Linked DNA regions of Homo sapiens: regions 1, 2 and 3 are each linked to region 4. The links are contacts of gene promoters, found by promoter capture Hi-C in blood cells and fetal thymus (Javierre and others, 2016). All regions are on one chromosome and are shown on one strand. Each heading gives the region's core, a stretch centred on a gene start or on the middle of the fragment in contact. The rest is flanking DNA. Distances are from core to core; before and after follow the strand shown.

What was found. The method cuts DNA at HindIII sites, captures the fragments that hold promoters and counts their contacts. A CHiCAGO score of 5 or more calls a contact.
Region 1: a fragment that was not itself captured here is called in contact with the fragment with the promoter of DLEU1 in region 4 in 1 of 17 cell types (fetal thymus); the score reaches 6.0 in fetal thymus.
Region 2: a fragment that was not itself captured here is called in contact with the fragment with the promoter of DLEU1 in region 4 in 1 of 17 cell types (activated CD4 T cells); the score reaches 6.0 in activated CD4 T cells.
Region 3: a fragment that was not itself captured here is called in contact with the fragment with the promoter of DLEU1 in region 4 in 1 of 17 cell types (naive B cells); the score reaches 5.1 in naive B cells.

The regions. Positions count from the first base shown.
Region 1 is chr13:50,492,851-50,495,682 of GRCh38, reverse strand. The region is part of intron 5 of DLEU1 (deleted in lymphocytic leukemia 1); the gene reads right to left. Among named protein-coding and RNA genes, the nearest start is that of DLEU1-AS1, 33 kb to the left of the region's middle. The HindIII fragment of the contact is 554 bases long and covers 994-1,547 here.
Region 2 is chr13:50,367,533-50,370,232 of GRCh38, reverse strand. The region is part of intron 2 of DLEU1 (deleted in lymphocytic leukemia 1); the gene reads right to left. Among named protein-coding and RNA genes, the nearest start is that of DLEU1-AS1, 160 kb to the left of the region's middle. The HindIII fragment of the contact is 1,094 bases long and covers 848-1,941 here.
Region 3 is chr13:50,583,997-50,586,706 of GRCh38, reverse strand. No RefSeq gene overlaps it. Among named protein-coding and RNA genes, the nearest start is that of DLEU1-AS1, 58 kb to the right of the region's middle. The HindIII fragment of the contact is 7,498 bases long and covers 1-2,710 here.
Region 4 is chr13:50,080,774-50,083,639 of GRCh38, reverse strand. DLEU1 (deleted in lymphocytic leukemia 1) reads right to left here and starts at 1,471. Exons shown (of 7, transcript NR_109974.1): 1 at 1,083-1,471; 2 at 446-498. The region is part of intron 1 of DLEU2 (deleted in lymphocytic leukemia 2); the gene reads left to right. RefSeq lists an enhancer at 547-1,342 and silencers at 1,500-1,549, 1,950-2,169, 2,033-2,327. The HindIII fragment of the contact is 5,734 bases long and covers 1-2,866 here.

The DNA of each region.
Region 1 (2,832 bases), core at 21-2,520, 410 kb before region 4:
TGTAATGAAAACAATCAAGACAATAGCAGAGTTAAATCTTCTGTGGCATTTGCCCAGCATCACAGTCGGATGATCTTTTTCAGCTTTAAATACTGGAACTTAGAATTCCTTCTTCAAGAGGAAAGTCTTTGAGGGCATTTGCTTCTAATAGAGACCAGTTTCATCTCAACTTTAAAATCTATTTAAAGTCTATAGGAATTCAAAAACATGTGCTGGGATAATAATTTTTATTATACATCAGCTTTGTTTCTTGAGGCATATTGATTGGGCTTTTTCATGAATTGTAAGAAAGCTTGCTTCTTGCTTTTATCTCTTCAAAACATTAAGGTGCTTGGAAGAAAGATCTCATATGAACCTACATGACTTCTACCACGATACAGCAGAACAGATGGTGCAAAAAAATACAAATATTAGTTCTTTCTAGCAAAGCTGCATCACAGGAGAGGATCCCCGAAATGATGAGACTTAGAGCTTACATAGGGCAGCTAGTGCATTTGCCCCTCATTTCTTCTGGAAAGAAAGAGAGAGAGACTTTCACTCTGGAATGTAAGAAACCCTCTCTGAGGATGTGAGGGAAAGGTCCCTAGGTTTTTGCTACCCAGAAATGTAATGCAAATGACTCTATGGCAGCGAATTCTCTAAATCTGTCTGGAACAATACACTATTTCTAGCTTCTCAGGCATATTTGCTATTCAATTATTGTTTAACCATTTTTGCCAATTTTCTTTGCTCAGAAAGCCAAGACTGTGCAGAAACGTAAAAATATTCATGGAAAATTGTCTCCCAACACTACCCTGGAACTTGTCATCACCCCAAACCTCTCTACCACCCAAGTCACTAAATCAGTTTCCTACTAACTCCTTTCTATCCAGCTAGCTAGTTCGACTCCTCAGATTACAAGTGTTCTTCAACTTCTTCAGGGCCCCTTCCATTGACTCTTCTACTCTCTTCCAATCTATCAGCCTTCTTTTTCAAATTCCCCCTTTCTAAGCTTGAATTTCATTATATGTCATTTCAATAACATATTTGCCAGGGCCCCAAACTCCATTCCTTTCTGTCTTTATATTAGCAGCTGCTAACAAGATCCCAGTGTTGCCTGAACCCAACTGTCTTTTTTTCCTTTTTTCCCTTAATCTTTCTAAACCCAAATACGGAAGTATTGCTGATGAAAGCCACACACAGAGTGGATCTGCACTGTTGTGAAGTCATGAACATCAAAACCAGCACGTCCTCAACACATATCAGCAAGATTTCCACAAGCACCTGTCAGTTCTCTCTCCCACCTCTCTAGTGAATTTCTCAAACTTTCTCCAGTCTCCTCAGATCTCTGACTTGCTTTTTTATCTTGCACCTTTCCTTCCACTCTTAACAAATGACCTCACTTCCTACTTTACACAGAAAACAAAAGCCACAAGACAGGAACTCCCACAAAAATGGGCCCTTATATCTGCACCCATCCCATTTTTTCTCCTTTCTGTAGAATAAAATTAGCCCTTCTCCTTTCTAAGGCCAATTGCTCCAATCATTACACTGGCTTTCAGGAAGCTTTCACTAGCTCTTTTTTCTTTTTTTCATTCAGCATTTCTCTCTTGCTTGGATCTTTCCCACTGACATTTACTTACTCAAGTTTCTCCCATCTACAAAGGAAAAAAACAAAATAAAACCTCCTTATACCTTCTAACCAGTCTTCCTACATTGATACTTGCTGCCTTCCCAATCTGTTCTCCACCCTGCAATCTTTGTGTTCTTTACAAATTACACAGTCACCACCCCCCTCCACAACCGTGCCCCACTTAAATCTCTTCAGTGGTTTCCCTAACCCTTCAACTGACAACCCAAACCCTTCACACGCCTTACAAAGTCCTGAATGACCTGACATATGCCCATATTTTCAGCTTTATTTTGCACCACTCTCTTCCCTCACTCTCTATACTACAGCCTGACTGTTCTGTTCACAGTCCATCAAACGTACCACAGCCCTCTGTCCCCAAGGCCCTTGCACATGCTGCCCAAGAAGTTACCTGTGGCCTCATTCTGTTAACCTCTCCCAAGCCCTAAGTGGCCAGCTCACCCACTTCAAAAATTATCTCATTTAGGCAAGACTTCCCAGAAAAACCAAGTCAGATAACTTTCCTTTAGAATAATTACCTCTGAAATACATATTTGTGATTATTTGATTAGTTATCATGTCCTTCCACCAGATCATAAGTTCTATTAAGGAAAAAAAAATACAAAATTATTTAACTGAAGCCCAGCTAATAGTAGGTAAAGTACTAAAAATACTTTTGATGAATGGATGAACAAGTAAAAAAATGAATGAAAGAATGAATGAATAAATAAACCAATGAATTAATTAAGACTGACACATTACTGGTCCTGTAATCTAGTTAGGATTTATAAGGGGTCATCCACCCAATTCTAACTAGATTACAGGACCAGTAGAAGTTGTCACAAACACATCACTGGTGTTCTATTTCTAAAATAACCTGGATTATATACTGAAGGAAGGAAGGGTTAAGAGACCCATTGCAGTCTTCTGCACATCCCCTACCATCTTGCTAATCCCCAAAGGAGGGCACTCACCACAAGGCATGGTAGTCGTTTCAGTGTCCATTATTCCTGGCATGACTGTTGAGTGATATTTCAGTTACAGCCCTCTTACCTTTGATTGTGGGGGTCATCTGAGCCTAAGAGAGCTCACTCTTAATCCTGCCCAGGAAATGCAATATCGTATTCCAGTTTGGTGGTTGAATGTACCACATGGGTACACATGGCCAAGACATTGCAAGCTTATGGACTCTATGGGGCCTATATGCTTGCTGGAGAAAATTC
Region 2 (2,700 bases), core at 145-2,644, 290 kb before region 4:
TTGCTTCTACCTTTTGGTTAATGCTGCTATGAACATGAGTCTACAAATATCTCTTCAAGATCCTGCTTTCCATTCCTTTGGGTATATTTCCAGAAATGGAATCATTGGATCATATGGTAATTATATTTTTAATTTTCTGAGGATCTACCATACTGTTTCCCATAGTACCTGTGCCATTTTACATTCCCACCAACAGTGCACAAGCGTTTCAATTTCTCCACATCCTTGTCAACACTTGTTACTTTCTGAAATGGCAGGGATTTCTGTCTATTCTATTTGCTGGTGTATGCTAAGCATGAAGAACAGGGCTTGACATGAAGTCAGCACCTGATAAGTATTCATAGAATTCAACTGTAGAACTGGTGTTGACAAGTGGCCCAGGATGGCCGGGGTTTGAACCTTGGCTTACACACTCAGACACTCCACATGGACACATTATTTGGCCTCCCTGAAGTTCAGGTTGTCATTCATCTGCAACAGCACCTATCTTGAAGGGTGTTGTCAAAGCCCAATAAGATGAGAGATGTAAAGCTCCCTGCCCACTGTGTCTGATACAGGACTCTCTTGCACATTTCCTTCCTTCCACACTGATTCTCTTGAACAGCACATTAAGCTGACTTGGAAAAAGACTATCAGTAATCAAGTTTGGTTAGAGAGAAGTCATTGTCTTTTTTGGTTAAGTTTCATTTGATCACCTCTTGATTTGTGAATCTAAGAGAAATCCCATCGACCCACAACCTCCTACACTGCCTTTTTTCTTCTTCGTAGCACATATCATTACTTGAAAGTATATGCAATGTCTATTATTTTTATCTGTTTATCCATTTTCTCTACCGGAACACAAGCTTCAGGTAGGAAAGGTCTTTGTTTTTCTTGACTACTGCCACATCTACAAGGCCCAGAACAATGCCTGCAACATAAAAAGTCTCAAGAAATATTTGTTAAATGAAGAATTCATTTAAACAGTTACTAATCACCTGTACAGGTATAGGCACTATGCTTACTACTGGGCATCCTATATAAATAAAATACAATTCCTGCCCTCAAGGATCTCACAGTTTAATTAAAAGATGATTATAAACAAATTATTAAATATAGTTTGAGATGCACAGTAAAGGAGCAGGTAAAAAATTATACAAAGAAAAAAGGTATTAAGTCTATCTGGAGGATGTTGTCAAAGAAGGCTTTCATAGGAAAGTGTCCCTTATGAATATTTTGAAGATTAACTAGGGTTGTTTCAGTAGGAAAAGAAGGAAAGGGCATTGTCAATTTAAGTGATAGTTAAGGTCACAAAGACAAGACACATAAGGCTTTATTGTGGAAACAACAAGTAATTTTGTGTAACTAGATATAAAGCTAAAGGGACAGTGTGATGCAACAGGAGCCCAGAGCCCAGAGGGGGCATAAATCATGGAGGCTTATTCAAGCATCATGCTTAGACTTGATGCTATAGATGATCAGAGCCACCAAAAGGCAACACACAAATAGATATTTATTTTAAGGAATCTATATGGCCCTGGTATGGCTGGAGGCCAGTTGGGAACCCCAGAGCTTCCTGGAGGACACCCACCATGGGGATTGGACCAAGCATTCCATTTTCATTCTCTGGGGGCTACAATGGGCTGCTAGACTGGCAGCTGGGTGCTGGACTCAAATTTGAGTCTTCTCATCTTCAAACTCTTCATCTTCTCAAACTGAAACAGCAAATTCTGAGAGTCTGAATCTCTGTTCTGACACTTTAAAGAACACTTTTTCAGGGTCCTAGTCACTGGGGTTTTAGAGCGGCTGCTTGAGTTAGGGTAGTTATATAGAATGTGGAATAAATAGCCATTGGACCTTTGGCTTTAACATTACACATTTCAAATTCTGTTTTATCTATAGAACTAACCTGGCCTATACTTGTGTTGACCCACTAGTAAAAAAGAGAATGTCTATTAAGCTTGGGCCAATTTATACTCTTTGAATGAATGTGTTCTGTATGGTGGGAGGAGAAAGATTTGGCCATACATTGCTACATCCCATGTTGCCTATGGACAAGAGTGTTCCTGACTGTATTCCTTTCCTAGGGCTACCATAACAAAGCACCATACATTGAGCAGCTTAAAACAGAATCATATTCTCTCACAATTCTGGAGGCTAGAGGTGTAAAATTGAGGTGTCAGCAGGGACATGTTCCCCCCTAAACCTGCGGGTGAGTGTCCTTCCTTGCTGCTCTCCTAGCTACTGGTGATTCACTGGCAATTTCTGGCATTCTTTGGCTTGTAACTGCATTAATGCCAGTCTCTGCCTTAGTTGTCACGTGGCATTCTCCTCATGTGTCTCTGTCTTCACAAAGCCACCTTCTTATAAAGACACCAGTCATATTGGGTTAGGGGCTACTCTGGTCTGAATGTTTGTGTCCCCTCAAAACTCATATGTTGAAATCCTAACCTCCAAGTTGATGGTATTAGGAGGTGGTGACTTTTGAGAAGCCATGAGGGAGGAGCCCTCATGAATGGGATTAGAACCTTTATAAAAGAGACCCCGTAGAGCTAGTTTGCCCCTTCCCCTATGTGAGGACACAGTCAGAAGGCACCATCAGTGGACCAGGAAATGGGCCCTCACTAGACACTGAATCTGCTGGTATCTTGATCTCAGACTTCCCAGCCTCCAGAACTATGAAAAATAAATATCTGTTGTTTATAAGCCATCTAGTTTATG
Region 3 (2,710 bases), core at 58-2,557, 500 kb before region 4:
GCCCAGCGACTGCATTGCTAAAAGGAAACACAATAGTGGTGGATATGAAATGAACATTCAAAAGGCATAAACAAAGGCTTAGGCTACTCCAAGGGAAACATAAATTCAGTGATGTGATGGAAAATATAGGCTTGATTTGAGGAGAATTACTATATTGGGAAGATCTATTAATCTGTTGATAGTCTCTCAAAGAAAGTGATGGCAGCTTGCTAGCTTGCTTCATTTAAAGTCAGTCTGTATGAGGAGCTGGAAAATACATTTCGGGGAGCGGGACTGAGCAGCGGGAGAGGGATGGGTTGCCCTCATAAATCTTGTTCATTTTTCATCTTGATGATTTTTCTCTCCCGTTTCCTCCCATTCTCTTTGTATTCTCATCCAAATGCCCCTCAGAACAACAAAATCCTCTCCCATGGAAATTTCTTCCTAGGCTAAGGGAAGGGAGGTGCTGCCCCATGGACTGGGATTGTGAGTGGGGTGGATAATTGGTCTGTTTCACTCAGGTCCTGCAAGGCCAACAAAAGGGGGGTTTGCCCCATGGGTTATCTTCCTCTGCTGGCCTGGCTTCTCTGTGCTCAAGTGGGGCCTGTGTCTCCCCTGCTTGGTACCCAAGGACTAAACCTTTAAGATGCCAGCTCTTAAAATCAGGAGTCGAAACCCCAGTACAGAGGGCTGAGATGATCCAGGTGAGCTAAGACACCTTTTCAGCTCTGGTCAGGAGACTGAGCGACAGCCTTTCACACCCTTACAGCAGGAGTGTGACAATTTCCCTAATGCTTTTTCAAGGGCTTTCATTTTTATCCAAATAGCTTCTAGCATTGCCAAGTAAAAGGAGAGGTGTTGCTATTGTCCAAACTATAAGCGAACAGCACAGTCTTATGTGAATCCAATTGAACGAGAGTTTTGCTGGAAGGTCCAAATAGCAAACCACTTTTTCCAGATGTCACAAAGCCTGAGGTCTGTGTGAAGGAAAACGCAGTGCTCTGGACTTTTCATCTGGTATATCTGTGGAAAGACCCCTTAAAGAAAATGTTTACTTCACACTCAAGCTGCTCTGAGCTCTGAGGGTGCCCCAACAGCCCCTTGATTTAGTATTTCAGAAACACACTCTTGTGTGAGAGGCGAAATTATCCTGGGAAAAAATGGGACTTGGACCCTAGGTTTTATTTGCTGAAATAAAGATTGCAGAAATAGATAGGGACAGAGAAAATGGTTTTGAAATATGTTCCTTGTTATAACCCTGTTGCCAGCACTTAAATAAAAGGGGGTTTAAAGAAGTAAATCCCTGCTCGGCATCCCAGGGGAGCAATTCTGTCTTAGGGATCTTTGCTGACACAGCTGATGCATACTCAAGACATCTGCAGGATGAAGTGCTCTGTGGCTAAAAGTAGAAGAGAATCCACTAAGAAATAGCCACACCGTGTGGAAGCGAAACCTCATCAAGCTGTGCAAATGTGGCTCGTGGAGAACCTAGCCTGATTTCCTGGATTTACACAGTACGCAGTATAAATCATAAAACCCAAAGAACGAATTAGACTTTTAATCATAAAATATTAGCATAAAAAGGCCGAAAGCTGACACCAGCTTTGTTCTCCGAGGCACACAAAGGGCTCCCTTAGCCTTCCCACCTTGACTCACTCACATTCCTTGTCTACCACTCTGTCCCAAGTCCCTGTCCTCTGCCTGTCTCCCAAGCCCAGTTTATCAGACTAAACGTGTGTCCATTGTCAGAAAGCTAGCTTTGTTCCATTCCTTCTAAGTGGGTACATACACTTACCATCCACTGGGGTTCCTACATGTTCCAACGGGTTAGGGGCACCTTGTTCATGGATAAGTAAATTGGCTTCTGGGAAGCTCAGCTTATTATGCAGTATCTCTGGCATTTCAGAGGTTGGGGAGCTTGGGTTCTTACTGTCACTTCTGGCTCTTATTCCTGCTCCTGAATTCCCTAGTGTCACTTCTGGCTCTTATTCCTGCTTCTGAATTCCCTTTCTCTTGTCTATTTCTTACCTCTGGAATGTGCCATCTCTTCTCTGTACTACATGACCTTACACTGAATATCCTACCCATCTACCCCAAAGCTACAGACTTTTACTGAAGGTTGGGGATTGCTATGGTGTGAACGTATGTATCCCCCACAAATTCATATGTTGGAACCTAAGACGCAGCGTGATAGTATTAGGAGGTAAGGCCTTTGACAGGTGATTAGGCCATGAGGGCTCTGTCCTCATGGATGGGATTAGTGCCTTATAAAGGGCCCTAGCCAGGCCCTCTTGCCCTTCCACCATGTTCTGTGTAAGGACACAGCATTTGTTCCCTCCAGAGGATGCAGCGACAAGGCACCACCTCGAAAGTGAAAAGTGATCCTTCATCAGACAGAATCTGAAGATGCCTGGATCTTGGACTTCCCAGCCACCAGAATTGTGAAAAATAAGTTTCCATCATTTATAAATTTCACAGTTTAAGGTATTTTGTTATAGCAGCAGGAATGAACTAAGACAGGCTTTATGAAGTCAGACAAGCAACTGCAATGCAAAACAGCACAGAAAACAATGAAAATTAGGCACGAGATGCCTAAATTTCCATTCTCACAGCTGACATAATCATTATCCATCCCAGACTGTTTCTGCCTCTTTCCTTTGTTTCTCTCTATTCACTTGCTCTCATCTTCTCTATTTGCACCCATTCTCAAATTTCCAATCTTCTCCCTCTT
Region 4 (2,866 bases), core at 222-2,721:
CATATCTACTCTCTTATTTAACATTCACAATGAAGGTTTTAAAATATTTACAACTTTATAGGGCTCCACGCGGTGGCTCACGCCTGTAATCCCAACACTTTGGGAGGCCGAGGCGGGCGGATCGCGAGGTCAAGAGATCGAGACCCTTCTGGCCAACATGGTGAAACCCCGTCTCTATTAAAAGTACAAAAATTAGCTGGGCGTGGTGGCACTTGCCTGTAGTCCCAGCTACTCGGGAGGCTGAGGCAGGAGAATTGCTTGAACCCGGGAGGCGGAGGCTGCAGTGAGCCGAGATCGCGCCACTGCACTCCAGCCTGGCGACAGAGCGAGGCTCCGTCTCAAAAAAAAAAAAAAATTACAACTTTATTATCGTTAATTGTCCTATCAGAGTGCCCATTTTTTTTGAAGGTAGACAGGTTTGCCTAGATATGGTGCTTCTACTTACCAGTTCTAAGACTTTGGGGCAGATTTCTTAATCTGAACCTCAGGTGTCCTCATCTGTAAAGTGAAGATAATACCTACTTCATAAGGCTGTTGTGAGCAATAAACACGATTAATTCGTAAATCATTTATTTAGCACAGTGCCCAGCACACAGTACACAGTCAATACGTGGTAGCTGTCAGTATACCAACGTGTTGCACAACAGAAACTCGTCTTTGCTGGATTCAGTTCACTTATCACGCCATTAAAAAAAAAAATCATCCTAAGTGACACAGAAAAACTGCCCATTCCTATCTCAAAAAGTTTATGAACAAGTTAAGACGGTAAGAGAAACTGAATTCAATGAAAGCGCCTTCGCAACAGGCAGCTTAGGACCGGGAAGAAGGGCTTCAGCAAACTTAATCATTAACTCTAGGCAGGCGCGCGCGCACACACACACACACCGTTGAAGAAGGAGACCACGCCTCCTGTGTGGGCTCAGGTTGAATCGTACAGCGTGGTAGAGAACTCCAGGGCTGCTGAATCTGACAGATGTGGATTCATCCACTTCTGTGCCACCTGTGCTGTCTTGGGCAAATTACTTAACGTCTCTGAGCCTAGGTTTCCTGGTCTTCAAAACGAGAACAGTAATAGTTCCTACCTGGTAAAGTTGTTCCGAGGCTTAAGTGCGATAACCCCTGTAAAGCGCTGGAGAACGGCAAAAGCTCTACAAGCCGGCAGGGCGGTTTTAAATGCACGTGTATCCATATACAAGGTCTCATTGATACATTCCGTTGTTTGGAGTTTAGACACTGGCTGTAAGACGTTTTTCTTTTCTCCTAAGCAGGACCCGTATTTGTTTACCTCCAACGTAGACTAAATGCCTGTGGGCTGGTAGCTATAAGACGACCCCTCGGCCCCACAACCTCTAAGTTCACTTCACCTCCGCGGCTTTGCAAAAGCGCTACACGCACGCGCAAGAAGCAAGAGGACTGCAACCGAAGAAGCAAAGGGAGAGCCGTGCACCACGATGATTCTGCGCATGTGCCTGGCGGGAGGAGGGGGGAGGGTTGGAGTTTGCGCATGCGTAAAAATGTCGGGAAAGCAAGAGAAGGGGGGTTAAGAGGCGGTATTGACAGCTGTGGAGGCAGCCCGCGTTCCCGGCATTCCCTGGGGCGGCGGGGTTGGCTCTAACGAATTTGAATGAGGAGCCTCAGCGCTTTCGGCGCCATTTTCGAGTGATGCCTGATCTCATCAATCTAGCGGGAGAGACAGGATAACCTGTCCGAGAGTATAGCGCCACTATGACTCCGCCGGAAAAATTACTTTAAAAATCGCCAAAAATTACTTGGAGCAAAGGGCAGTCGGCGGAGCTTCGCCAAGGCTGGCGCAGTCGGTAAGAGCCTGAAGAAGTAGCAGAGCGGGACTCGGGAGGTGGCAGTGGTGGGACCCGCAGGCAGTGGTGGGTGCAGGGAGTGGGCGCGGGGTCTACTCTCACTTAATCGCGAAAAATCCGAGGAAGTAGGGTTAGGGGCAACTTGGGCGTCTGCGAGTGGGCGGCGGCGGGCGGAATGTGGCGGGAGCGCGGAGAGACGGGGCTGTGGGGGGAGGGGAGCTGCAGTTTGAGCGGGACGCGGACCGGCTGCGGCGGAGCAGCCGCCGCCCAGCGGATCTGTCAGCAAGACCCCCCGCCCGGGACCGGAGCCGGGGACGGCGCACTGCGGGGTCTCTGCAGGCGGCCGCTCCTTGACAGGAGGACTGGACGCGCGCCCCTCCCCCATTTCCGAACCGGGCCGCCTTTTCTCGCCGTTTTCTCGACCCGGTGATGGCCGTCATCTCGTGACAAGAAACTTAAGGTCGACAGAAAATTCAGGACCCGGAGTCATGGGTCCCTCCGGTGGGTCGTGGCAACAGTCCCCCCCGCCACCGCCCGGCACCCATCTATCTATATTGTCTTTTGACGCTGAAGCGTGAGGTGCCCCAGGAAAGAGTTTCCCAAGCCCTGGCTGCCCTCCCCCGGCGCGCTGGGTCCCGGTGAGGTCTCTAGGTAGGTAGGACTGGCCGCGGCTCGCGCTTCCAAGATGGGGCAGGGGCAGGCTTTTGAGGTTGTAGCGGGCTCTTAGGAAAGATGCTGGACTTTAGCTTCTTTCTGGGGATTTTTGTCATTTGCTCTCGCAGCGTTGTCCTTTCTCAAAGGGGAGGAGTGTTCACGGGTGAGATGAAAGATGGGGCTTCGAGCTAACGATTTCCTTCTCGTGGCTATTTCCTCCGAGTCGCACTTTCTTAGAAGACTTTTTTCTTCTCCGGTGTTTGAAACATGTCGCAAGGAAAAAAGCAATCTGTGAAACTATTAATGTTTTCCTCCCCCAAAAGTCTTTACCCGGACAACTTAACGGTAATTTTGCGATCCCCACCTTTTCTTGACGCTGAGGAGGAGGGACGAGA